4 separate regions of the Homo sapiens genome follow, and all the other regions are linked to region 1. Evidence: promoter capture Hi-C in 16 types of primary human blood cells and fetal thymus (Javierre and others, 2016). All regions are on one chromosome and are shown on one strand. Each heading gives the region's core, a stretch centred on a gene start or on the middle of the fragment in contact. The rest is flanking DNA. Distances are from core to core; before and after follow the strand shown.

Evidence for each region. The method cuts DNA at HindIII sites, captures the fragments that hold promoters and counts their contacts. A CHiCAGO score of 5 or more calls a contact.
Region 2: a contact is called between a fragment that was not itself captured here and the fragment with the promoter of LCE3A in region 1, in 1 of 17 cell types (M2 macrophages). The highest score is 5.9, in M2 macrophages.
Region 3: a contact is called between a fragment that was not itself captured here and the fragment with the promoter of LCE3A in region 1, in 1 of 17 cell types (M0 macrophages). The highest score is 5.2, in M0 macrophages.
Region 4: a fragment that was not itself captured here is called in contact with the fragment with the promoter of LCE3A in region 1 in 3 of 17 cell types (M2 macrophages, M0 macrophages and M1 macrophages); the score reaches 7.8 in M2 macrophages.

What each region holds. Positions count from the first base shown.
Region 1 is chr1:152,621,273-152,624,633 of GRCh38, forward strand. LCE3A (late cornified envelope 3A) reads right to left here and starts at 1,831. Exons shown (of 1, transcript NM_178431.1): 1 at 1,562-1,831. The coding sequence starts at 1,831. The coding sequence ends at 1,562. The HindIII fragment of the contact is 6,916 bases long and covers 1-3,361 here.
Region 2 is chr1:152,227,446-152,230,557 of GRCh38, forward strand. The region is part of intron 1 of CCDST (cervical cancer associated DHX9 suppressive transcript); the gene reads left to right. Among named protein-coding and RNA genes, the nearest start is that of HRNR, 4.8 kb to the left of the region's middle. The HindIII fragment of the contact is 4,144 bases long and covers 1-3,112 here.
Region 3 is chr1:153,031,880-153,035,234 of GRCh38, forward strand. It overlaps SPRR1B (small proline rich protein 1B), which reads left to right. Exons shown (of 2, transcript NM_003125.3): 2 at 448-1,021. The coding sequence starts at 467. The coding sequence ends at 736. Among named protein-coding and RNA genes, the nearest start is that of SPRR1B, 2.4 kb to the left of the region's middle. The HindIII fragment of the contact is 1,757 bases long and covers 864-2,620 here.
Region 4 is chr1:153,125,348-153,128,241 of GRCh38, forward strand. No RefSeq gene overlaps it. Among named protein-coding and RNA genes, the nearest start is that of SPRR2F, 13 kb to the left of the region's middle. The HindIII fragment of the contact is 3,336 bases long and covers 1-2,894 here.

The DNA of each region.
Region 1 (3,361 bases), core at 581-3,080:
GGACACTTCACTCTTGTCAGGGAAACAGGGGGTTACCATCCAAAGGATAAGTCCCATGGACTTCCCACACACTTATGTAACAGTCCATATCATTCCAGCTCATAAGTGGATTGCTGACTTGTCAGTCGGCATCTCAAGGATGGGAATCATATTTCACACATTTCTGAGTCCTTTGTGTCAACATATATCTGAACTGTGTCCTCAATTCCTGTTGTTTGAATGAATTAATTAATGAATAAAATAGTATAGACAATTAGTTTTCAACAGTCTTGATAATCAAGGCCAGATATTTGGGTGTTACAGGGACTTCCTGGTTCCCTTCTATCAGAAAACATCTGGGCATCTACTGAATAATTATTGAATTTCCTACTGAGGGGCTAGAGTTTGAAGAGCTGTTACTTGGAGTAGAGTCCATCACTATCATCACTCTCCATGTCCCATCTCCTTTTTTTCTGATTCTAAATCAAAGTAGGAGGAGAAAATACCTTGATCAGCAAACATTCTGAGCCAATTCATCCCTGCCCAAGGCCCTGTTTCCCTGCTGCCCTTAGGTTAGCAAAAACGTGAGCTTAGGGTCATAGGGTCAGGGTCTGAGAAAGACGGTGAGGGACAAGGGGAGACAGATAGGTAGATAGAGATAGATAGATAGATAGATAGATAGATAGATAGATAGATAGATAGATAGATAGAAAACAATGATTTACTTTTTCATTTCTTCCAGGGATCACTGAGCTGAGATGTCCTGAAAGGAAAAACTAACAGCACTGTCAGCCCCCTCCCAAGTGCCTAACCCTCAAGTATCCTTTTGGTTGTTTGCTGCCAGTCTATTTCTGTTGTGGTTCCAGCTCTGCAGGAAGCTGCTACCGGAGTCACCATGGGCCCACAGATCCCACTGACATGCCCAACAGAGCATTCTGGAGGCTCCAGTTGCTGCCACAGCTCTGGGGGCTGCTGTGGTCCTGGGTCATGAAGACTACAGAGTATCAGAGTTGGAGGAACCAGAGGACCAAGGACCTGCTCCCATCTGGAGCTTCTCTTCTTCTCTGCCATCTAGGGCTGAGCTACCAAAGTGTTTTCGGAAGGATCTGAACGGGCCCAGTAAGCTCATTCCCTTTGTTTTCCAGAGCTCTGTGTTTATTTCCAACTCATGCTTCTGTCCTTGACCTTGTGAAAGACTGCTCACCTCATTCCCACACTAATATACAACCCCCCTAAAAGGGTTTTGTGAGTTGAGGGGTGTATGACCCACTTGTGTCTGTTCCTAAGATAGGCCTATGTACCCAATGTGGGGCAGCCCCTGTAAGGCAAAGACGGGAACGCACTGGACAGAGCTTGCAACGAGAAAGCACAGCTTTATTCTTCACAGCACAGGGATATTAAAGAAGGAGGGAAAACACTAAGACCAGCAGGATAAATCCCCTGGGGGAGTACTTGAAACTCATCAAGGAACATCTCAGTAGGAAAGAGGAGACAGGAGCAAAGAAGCACCAGGCTAGGGCTGGTTCCAGTCATTTTGGCACTTTCTTTTCTCAAATATTTTTACTTAATCTCGTGGCTCAGGTCAGCAGCAGCCCGCAGAACTGTGGCCACAGCTGGAGCTCCCGCCTTGCTGACCACTTCCCCTGTCACAGGAGTTGGAGCTCTGGCAACGGCAACGGTGAGACCTGCGGCATCTGTGGTGACTCAGGCAGCAGCTGCGCTCGGAGCTGGGCCCACAGCCCCCAGAGCTTGGGGCACAGCTGGAGGAAGCTGGAGGCAGACACTGTGCTGGGCTCTTTGCAGGGCACTTGGGCGGAGGCTGGCACTGCTGCTGGTTCTGCTGGCAGGACATCTAGGCAGGAGGTCAGGGAGCCTGGGCAAAATAAAAGCAAAGCAAAATACGTGTCAATGCAGGTTTCAGGCCAGGGCCTCCTCATGCTTTGGTTTAATTGTGGATCCCTTCCCCTAAACTCAGTCTGCCCTCCAGCTAAGACCTGGGGAAGGGGAATGCAAACGGATCTGAAGTTAAACCGGCCTGATACTGCCCCTTCCTCCGGCCCTCTCCCCTGCCTGGGAGGCAGCTGACACTCCTGGGTGGGCCTCTGGGGCTCCTGCGCACGCCCTGCGGGGCCTGTCACACCTCCGGACCCGATGCGAACAGCTCCCCCTGCAGGCGTCCCGTGAACACAACGCCCATGACCCTCCAGGGTGGCGTCTCTCTGGACGCCTGTGAGCGCAGGGTGTGAGGAGGCAACGCATCTCTGCGCACATGAGGAAAAGGGGGTTCAGAGGTCGCAGCATCGCGGAGCCCCTGAAGTGGCTCGCAGACTTGTCTGTCTTCCTCACTATCCCGCCCATCTCCCATCCCAGTCCCAGCCGGCCACCCACCACAGCCTCTCTGCCGCCTCCACCGTGTCTGCCTCCTCCCCTCTCCTTGTTGAAGCACAGACGTGTTTGCGCAGCCCTTTCAGCCCAGGTCCTCTCGCCAGCTGGACGCTCACCTGGTTTGGTGGAGGCAGGAGAAGGTTCTTCCTGAGGTGATTGTGGACTGAGGAACCCAGGGCCTCAGCCCTTTTATCCTGGGTATTATGATGCACAGCCCAACTATGTGTCCTCCTTTGCTCCCCAAAGGGAGGGGAAGCACCACACACTCCCAAGGACCAGGCTTTCAGCATATTCTTAAGGCGCATATTTTGAGGAATGACAAAAGGGAAGCAGGAAATCTCGATGACGGTCCAATTATCCACCGTTCAGGCCCTCTGGCTGCTGTTCCACTTTTTTTTCTTCATTCAGCTCACATGCTCTGAAGCCAGGGTACGTCCTTTGTGGGGCCTGGTAATATGGGGACAAACAGAACACATTTCTCCCCTTGACTAGCTCACAGCTTTTCAGAAGGCCAGATGGACAACTGAGCAATTAAATCACATCCTATGTGCTAAGCGACGCAGCACAAGTGTGCACAAACATGGCAGGCTGGGGTCACTGCCTTTGGGTGTCAGTCCCCATTGCTTTGTGGATTCCTTTACATAGGTGATGGAATCAGCCCCTGTGTCCTGAGATGTTGGCTGCACTGAGCTCACTGGACCTGGGTTGAGTAAGGGGTGGAAGAATGGAGCTGGGGCCATGGCTTGAGAGGTAGTGTCTTCAGGGAATATCATGGCATCTTAAAGGTGGCATTGGGCACTGTGGGGGCAGAGGGGTAGAGTGGAGGGAGGTGCAGATGGTATAAAAATGTGACCTCCATCTGTGGGATCAACAGAAATCACACTTAATGGGAAAAAAGGGGCATCCGTTTTTGGCTGTCTGTGAAATGTGCAAGGCTGAATTTAATCCTATATATTATGTTAGTAATTCATTAAAATTTCTTTGAATTTGTTGATAA
Region 2 (3,112 bases), core at 417-2,916, 390 kb before region 1:
AAGTTCCAGTACCATCTGTGTGCACTCATTTTTTTCTGCCTGTCTGGAAGGCAGAGTAATGTGCCTATTGCACCATCTGCTGGGTCATAGGGAAATTCTAAAGCAGATCTTTTCTTCATTGCCTTTTCTGCCCTTTTTCCTTACAGAAATTATTTCATGGAATTTCTATAGTTCTTTGTAGCCTAGTCTCTATAAATGAGGAGACTATGTAAAAAATAGGGGTATGTATATAAGAGAAGGTTGATGGTCATGATTTTGGGTAAATGGAATCAAAAGAAGTTAGCTATAATATGAAACTGGTTAAATAGTGCTTCCTTCTATATCCTCTTTTGAGTCCTTTTTACTGTTATCTCAAAAAATAAAAAATGGATTCGATATAATTTTACAGCTTAGTATATATTCCCTGGGGATGAGACAGGCATGGTGACATATCTTTCAGCTTCAGACCCACACCCTGGAATATATTCTGCTTCAGTACTGGTCTGCCTATTGAGTTGTTTCTTTCTCCCTTAATATCCTCCATTTTCTCTTCCGAGAACTCCAAAATGCTTCAAATGCTGGGAATCCAGAGCTCATTCATACATGTATCCTTTTATTTATTCCATCAGTATCTTTCTCTAATATATATATATATATATATATATATATATATATATATATGAGAAAAAAATATATATATAGTTTTTTTTTTTGGGTCTCACTGTTGCCCAGGCTAAAGTGCAGTGGTGCAACCATGGCTCACTGCAGCTTCCAACTCCAGGGCCCAAGTGATCCTCCCACTTTAGCTTCCCGAGTAGCTGAGATTATAGGTGTATGCCACTGCATCTGTCTAATTTTTATATTTTTTTGTAGAGATGAGGTCTCACTGTGTTACTTAGGCTGTGTGTTCTTATCTTGATGTTTGATGCTCTTACTGGCTTGGTATTCATAGTCTCTATCCCTTAGTTCCTACTACCTGAAACATTCAGCATGCAGACCTGGTCCATTAAAGTGGACAAATGGAGAAGAGTGACTGGAAGCGATTCTCACAAACACTTCAAGTGTTAGAAATGGTACCAAAAAAAAAAAAAAAAAAGCTGAGATATAAGGACCTTGATTGTTGGAAATCAAATCCAGAACATTTGCCTTTCGATGTGCATGCGTGCGTGCGTGCGTGCATGTGTGTGTGGCAGGGGATAGTGGTGGGATAGCAGATAGAGAAGGGAGAGTGAGGCATTGTAGTATGAATGTAATGAGTAGCAAACTGATCAGACCTCTGTTTCCTTTCTGGCCTCATCTTTCACCACTCTCTCCCTTGTGGTACCCTGCTGAAGCCATATTAGCTTCCTTGCTATTCTCCAAAACCTCCAGGCATCCTTCTTTTTAAAAGAATTTTTGCCAGAAATGCTCTTCCCCTAAATGTCCATTTGGCTATATCACTTATCTCCTTCAAGTCTCTGCTCAAATACCACCTTCTCAATAAAGCCTACCCTGACCCTTCTATTTGATATATACTTCTAACATACCATATGGTTGGCTTATTTACTAGGTAAGGTTTTGAGCAGAGGAGTGGCATGATCTGACTCACTGCTATGTTGATACTAGACTGAGAGGTAAGATAGAATAAGGAAGATGAGTCAGAAGACAGATGAAGGAACGGAAGTAATCAAGGCTTCTGACTTGGATGGCAGTATGTATGGTGGTAACATTCACGAAGAACAGCAATACATTTTTTGCATTTTTAGTAGAGATGGGGTTTCACCATGTTGGCCAGGTTAGCAGGGCGTGGTGGCATGCTCCTGTAATCCCAGCTACTCAGGCGGCTGAGGTGGGAGAATTGCTTGAACCTGGGAGGTGGAGGCTGCAGTGAGCTGAGATTTTGCCACTGCACTCCGGCCTGGGCAATAGAGCAAGACCCCATCTCAAAGTAAATAAATAAATAAAAAGCAAAGCAATAAATGAGAAAGAGAAGGTATGAGATGAGGGGAAATAATGATGAATTATCATCTAATTTATTTCTATCATCCATTTCCATCTCTTAATAACTGAACTCCTTAAAAGAGCAGTCAGCACTCCTTGTCTCTGACTCCCGTAACTTTCACTTACTCTTCAACACTTTATAGGTTGATTTTCACAGCTTCTTTCAGGCTTTTTGAAGGGCTTTTCTTCCATGGTCTGTGCTTAAATGTTTTTACTCTCCAAAGCTCCATCCTTAGCTCTTTGCCTGTTTGGATCAGTTTCCAGTCTTACCATTTATAAAGTAGGGTAATGGAGCAGAATAGAGACAAGACACATTGTTAATTCATAAATTTTTGTTGGCAATATTTATGCAATTGGAATGTCAAAACTAGAGCGTTAGAAGCTCTGTCTATAAACTCAAGCATATTGCAGTCAGTCACAGTGATCTGATGATACTATAAGACTTAATACATTTCTGTACAAGTTATGTAAAATATAAAATTTGGCAGAAACTTCAAAACTTGAACTTTCATATTTAATGCTCTAGTTGAAACCCAACAACAAAATTTTTCTTTAATATTAAAATTTAAACTTACACCACTTACATATGCTAACTGAGGAGGGCAAGTATGCACTGTCCTTTAAAAGAAGATCAATATTAAGTAGAAGAATTAAGGTAGGATTACATTTTTAAAGAAAAGGTTAGAGCCAGATAACTTTGTCCTCAGAAAGAACTTGTCACAATAAATTCCTGTTTTTTATGTTTTTCTTCTCGTCTTGGTTTTTGAGTTAGTTCCTCTCCTGTTGGTGTCTCACTTATTAAGGTAATGGTCACATTGCTTGTCGATATATTTTTAGAGTGTAGCATTGTTATAAAAAATAGTAAAAACTTGTTTTTGCTTGCTTTCATTGTTACTTGCCACAGAGCTTTTTTTTTAAATTAGTATCTTCTGTGTACATGTCAATGTGATTTATAGATATTTAGACATTAACTGTTCAAATCCTTAGGTGAAATATTAGTATTTCTGTCTTACAGACAGTGAAATTGAGGTTTGACGATGTTAATTAACTTGCAAAATCACATCAATACTAAGTGGCAGAAGTAGAATTTGAACTCAGGTTTCTGACTTTAAATTAGGACTCTTAACTCTTAAAAGACTCAACTCTTAAAGTG
Region 3 (3,355 bases), core at 492-2,991, 410 kb after region 1:
AGGAACAAGGAAAACATTTAAGACAGAGGAGAACTTGAGCCAGGCCACAGGTGGGATTGCTTGGGGTTCTAGAGAGGTCAGAGTTATACAATAGATGATAAGCCATGCTATTTATCAGAAATGAGTGAGTAGATTTAATTTGTTAGGGTTTTTTTTTTCCAAAGAACCTCACATTTCCAATGGTCCAGTATTATGAGTCTCATATTCCTGCTAGAAGCCTGTTATTGTGCTGTGTAGGAAGAAAGAGAGCACCAGGAGAGGCCCTGCTCCAGTGGAGCAAGAGCAAATCATCTTTAGGTTCCTCTTCTTCAAAGGCTCAGAAATTAAATTAAGTATTCTTTGTGGTCAAGAAGGGGAAAGAACATAGCTTTTTAAGAGACCAGAAGTGGTATTCACCATGGCTTCTTCCCTATTATTCTCTGCTTAAATCATCTGTTCTGTGTCCAGGACCAGTCACTGTTGCAGCATGAGTTCCCAGCAGCAGAAGCAGCCTTGCACCCCACCCCCTCAGCTTCAGCAGCAGCAGGTGAAACAGCCTTGCCAGCCTCCACCTCAGGAACCATGCATCCCCAAAACCAAGGAGCCCTGCCACCCCAAGGTGCCTGAGCCCTGCCACCCCAAAGTGCCCGAGCCCTGCCAGCCCAAGGTTCCAGAGCCATGCCACCCCAAGGTGCCTGAGCCCTGCCCTTCAATAGTCACTCCAGCACCAGCCCAGCAGAAGACCAAGCAGAAGTAATGTGGTCCACAGCCATGCCCTTGAGGAGCCGGCCACCAGATGCTGAATCCCCTATCCCATTCTGCGTATGAGTCCCATTTGCCTTGCAATTAGCATTCTGTCTCCCCCAAAAAAGAATGTGCTATGAAGCTTTCTTTCCTACACACTCTGAGTCTCTGAATGAAGCTGAAGGTCTTAGTACCAGAGCTAGTTTTCAGCTGCTCAGAATTCATCTGAAGAGAGACTTAAGATGAAAGCAAATGATTCAGCTCCCTTATACCCCCATTAAATTCACTTTCAATTCCACTCTTGACTGTGTGTCATTGACTCTACAACTTCATTCCTTTCCCTCGTGAAGCGGGAGCTGTACACAGAGATGAGTTGGTGAAGAAGGGCTTTGTCCAGAAGGCATCTGATGCTCACATTAGGAGGGTGAAGGGCTGCCCCCACAAGCATTCCTGGGCTGCCTATGGGAGGTTGTGTAATGCCACCTAGAGGCTGTTGCTTTGGGCATCCAGGGCTGGAAAAGGGCTCTCCTCTTGCAACTCAGTGAGTCATGCTAGAGTTTAGTTAGCACTTGTCTAAGCTGACTCTGACTCACTAATCCTGATTGCCTTCTCTCCAAATCTGGCTTTTAGACTGCTAACTTACCAGCCAATTCCTGTTTATTTCAAGTAATGTTGTTCCTACATATGCTAACCTGCTCCTTCTCACTCATTTCTCTGATATCTACAACCTAGATTTCCAAACACCTCCAAAGATGCACAGACTCCGTTCTTTATCTCAGTTAGTCATTTCTAGTTTCTGAGTGCCAACTCTGGACCTGAAACAGAACAAAGGGGATTTAAGGTGCTTGCCAGGGGCATTTACAGTGCCCTGGAGGGATATACTTCACTCCCTACCCCACCCCTCATTCAAACACACATACACACATATACAACCACACACACAAGATCTGGAGTCCTCACAGAGTAATGCACAAAAGCTGATCCAGTTTGGAGACTGTTTCTTTCACATAGGTGGGAACCATGGAAGTGAGAACTGTAAAACCCACCCTCACCCCTCTCCCTGTAGTATCAACATGTTTCAAGTCAAATTAAACAAGATAGAGTTATCAACAGTGTATTCATATATATATGCATATATTTTTATATTGATGGAAAAATAGGTTGCTCTTGTATGTAACTGGGAGACAAAGCAAGTTGTTCTGCAGTAGCATAAAAGAGATTCTTTTTCTTAGGATGCAAAATGAAATAATAAAAAAATTACATGCCATTGGTATAACTCAAGAAATTGTGATATTTTTGATCACGGCATTTTTACTTGATTGCATTATTTAAAATTACAAAGCCTATATGAAAAATATTTGCCCTAAATGTTGTATTGCCCTAAGGGTTTTTTTGTTTAATTAGTAGGTAAAATCTACCATCATATCCAAATATAAGTGCCTCTAGCACCTAACCAATTAACCAAGCAGAAAAAAAAGTGTTGTAATCATGCGATTATTAGTCAGCATAGGTCAGCTGCTATAACAACACCCCCTATATTGTTGGGGCTCCATCAAGTAAAAGTTACTTTCCACTCATATAAAAGTCCAATATGGGTTTGTAAAGTCTTTGTTCCACATAGTCATGAAGACACACAGTCCTTCCTTCCTATGGTCTCACTATCTCTGAGTGCTGTGCTTTATGAATCCAAGCACAAGAACAGGGAAATAGACTGAATATAGAGAAGGTGTCCCTGCACTTATCCACTTGGAACAAGAAATGGCATGTATCCCCTCAGTTCTTATGGACTTGGCTAGAACTTGGTCACATAGCCCTGTCAACCTCACAAAGTTAAGAAATGTCGTTTACTGCTGTGCTTAGAAATAAGAGGAAGACAGAGATTTGGGTGAGCTCCTCAAGCTTCAGCCACAGAATAGCCTTCTTGTTCTCAAATATCCATCTGCTCCTTTGTCTCATAAGCAGAACACAATCCCGTAAGGAAAAAAAGCCTTATGGTCCCCATCAGCTCAAAATCTAGGATCTCTAGATGACATGAAATTCTCTCCATTACATTTTCCTATGGCTCCTTTTGTTCAGCAAATTATGAAACAAACAAATGGGCCATTTCTTCCTGTTACCCAGCATCCAATGGCAATGCAGGTACAGGAGAGCTAAATCAAAACTACCATGTTCAAAGGAAGATAATGGTGACACATGGCAGCCACTAGGCCTTAGTACTCTGAAATCCAACTGGGCAGGCATTGTGAAGCCACACTCTTCCCACTCCAATATACCAGAAGTGGTAGAAGTTCCTTTTAAGGTATTGATTCTGTTCTCTGAAAGGAACTCCTTTTAACTTTCCTATTCGTTGTTCTGCCACCCGTAGAATTGTCCTTTTCTTAGTACTATTCTCTATAATCAAACCTCAAGTGTGCATTGTGGATTGCGCCCTTCTTGGTTAGGTAAGCTTTGCAGCTCACTTTTCTTTTTTAAGTTTTTTATTTTTTTCTTTTCTATAATTTCAACTTTTATTTTAGATTCAGGAGTCGATATGGTTTGGTTCCGTGTCCCCATCCAAATCTCCTGTGGAATGATAATCCTCAATGTTGGAGGAGGGGCCTGGTGGGAGGAGATTGAATTATGGCAGCAGACT
Region 4 (2,894 bases), core at 192-2,691, 500 kb after region 1:
GCTCAAAGACAGGGCTTTTGAATTAACCCAATCCAACAAACAGAAAGAAAAAAGAATTTTAAAAAATGAGCACAGCCTTCAAGAAGTTTGGGATTATGTTAAATTACCAAACCTAAGAATAATTTGTGCTCCCAAGGAAAAAGAGGAATCTAAAAATTTGGAAAACATATTTGAGGGAATAATCCAGGAAAACCCCCCTGGCCTTACTAGAGATCTAGACATGCAAATACAAGAAGCTCAAAGAACACCTGAGAAGTTGATTGCCAAAAGATCATCACCTAGACACATAGCCATCAGGTTATCTAAAGTCAAAACAAGAAAGAATCTTAAGAGCTGTGAGGCAAGAGCATCGGGTAACCTACAAAGGAAAACCTATCAGGTTAACAGCAGATTTCTCAGTAGAAACACTACAAGCTAGAAGGGATTGGGGTTCTATCTTTAGCCTCCTTAAACAAAATAATTATCAGCCAAGAATTTTGTATCCAGCAAAACTAATCTTCATAAGTGAAGTCTTTTGCAGACAAATGCTGAGAAAATTCACCACTACCAAGCCAGCACTACAAGAACTGCTAAAAGGAGCTCTCAATCTTGAAACAAATCCTCAAAATATACCAAAATAGAATCTAATCTCCTTAAAGCACAAATCTCACAGGACATATAAAACAACACAATGAAGAAAAAAAAGGTATTCAGGCAACAAATAGCATGATGAATAGAATAGTATCTCACATCTCGATACTAACATAGAATGTAAATGGCCTAAATGCTCCACTTAAAAGATACAGAATGGCAGATTTTAGACCAAATCTATGTAGGTTACAAATGGGAGCAGTTTTATCAGCAGTCAGGTAGACAGGCTGCTGATAAAACTGCTCCCATTTGTAACCTACATAGATTTGGCTTCTTTAAAGGTCACAAATGGTTTTAGCTGGGGATGAAATGCCTTCCCTTAGCCTTCTTCACATTAGTAAACATAAGAGCACCCTGCCTTACAGTCATAACCAGGACCCTTGGAGCTTTGATAAAAACTGCACTGTCTTATACCACCAAGAATCTTCCAGAATCTCAAGAAATTCTCCATCTAATTAGGTCTGCAAGGGGCTTGGTCTTTGGCTGGTAAGATGGAGGTTTTCTGTTCGTATCTGCTGAAGTATGGTACAGTATTAAGTCTTACAGGTCTTCCACAAGCTGACTTATCTTGATTGCTCCAAACATTAAAGGGCAAATAGAGTTTGGCTTATTACTTCCCATCTTTTCTCATGCTATCTTCAAAAAGTTCTATCCATTAACCTCATCATTTAGTATGCCAATGAGCAATTATATTTATGTACTTTTATTAACTATTTTTTGAATATATTTTGGTTATTTTGGTTAAATATATTTTGGTTATTAATAATGGTGAGATGTTCTTCATTAGGTTGTGATTAACTTTGCATTATTATTAACTACCTTTCATTTAAGAAGTTCACTATGAATTATCATTGCTTCAAAATGTTATTGATGTTCATATTTGTTAACATTGTTCCCAGTTAGCACACAATTTGAAGGGATTAAGTGTCATCTGTGTAATTTTTATTTTCTCCATAAAATAGAGCAGCAGATAGAACAGAGAAAATATCAGGCAGGTCCTCAAGAGACCTTAGTTCTGGCCCCAGGTCAATCATTGAGAAGCAGGGTCTCCTTGGCCAGTCTTGCCCAGGATCTTTTTCTGAGCAATGGAGATGAGGTGTAGGTGAGGATGACACAGGAGTTTTCACTGACCCTGCTCCAGTCTCAATGACTCTACACATTTTCTTCCTCTCACAGAGCCTTCTCTATAGTCTATGATCCCTTTTCTTTAAATGCTCATTTCTTGCCTAAACCTTGAGAGCATCTCTCATTAGGATTCATTACAGAATGGGATTCTGGCTTTTCAGCACTCTTCTACTTTGCTGCCCTCAGAATGAAGACTAGAGTTCTTTTTTTTTCAAGATTTAACTATTTTTCATTCTTGTATAGAAAAATAAAATGTAAACCAAAATCCCAAGCATTCCTTCATTGACAAATTGATAAGCCACATGTGCTCTACAACAAAGATCATGACTATATCCCTGCCTTTTCACATACTTGCAGGCTAGTGAGAGAGACAGACCACAACAGCACAGGTTATAACAAGTATTTCCTGAGATGGCTGCTAGGGACCTCTGCTCTCTGCTTCCGTTCTGGAGAATGTGATCTTCCTGCTTTCAGCTAATAACTCCTGATCAATCCTTCTTTTGTCATGGGCTTTCTCCCAACACCTAACACTGCGGTTGCAACTATTCCAAAACAATAGGTTCCAACTAATTTCCCCTCAGGCACCTATTATAACTTGTATTTCTCAGCTTTTTTATTTTCTTATAGTTTCCAACACTTAACGAGACACTTAATGGAGTTGATTTAGAATAGTATGAAAATGCTTTTGGAATGGGCAAATCACCTGACCATCCAGGGGAAGCTGATCTAAGGGTAGACCTGTGTCAGCTAGAAATCAAGCACAGAATAAAATATATTAACTATAAGGAAACATTTTGACTCAATCTTGACCTTTTCCCATTTTCACACATATTTTTAAATCAGTTTATTTAGTTGGGTTTTTAATTAGGATTTGGTTTAAATCCAGACATCAACGTGGGAGAAAGTTGATGCTTCCACAATTTTGAGTCATGAATTCACACACATGGTTGTCACTCTATTTCTACACAAGAAAATGTTGCACAAATTTTGTTAGATTTATTTCTATGTCCTTCACATATTTTTACACATTGATTCATATTATACAATTTTATTTTCTAAGTGTTTGCTCTAACATGCAGGAACAGAGTTGTTTTGGTTCCTGATTTTGAATCCAGCACTTTTTTAAACCCTCATATTAA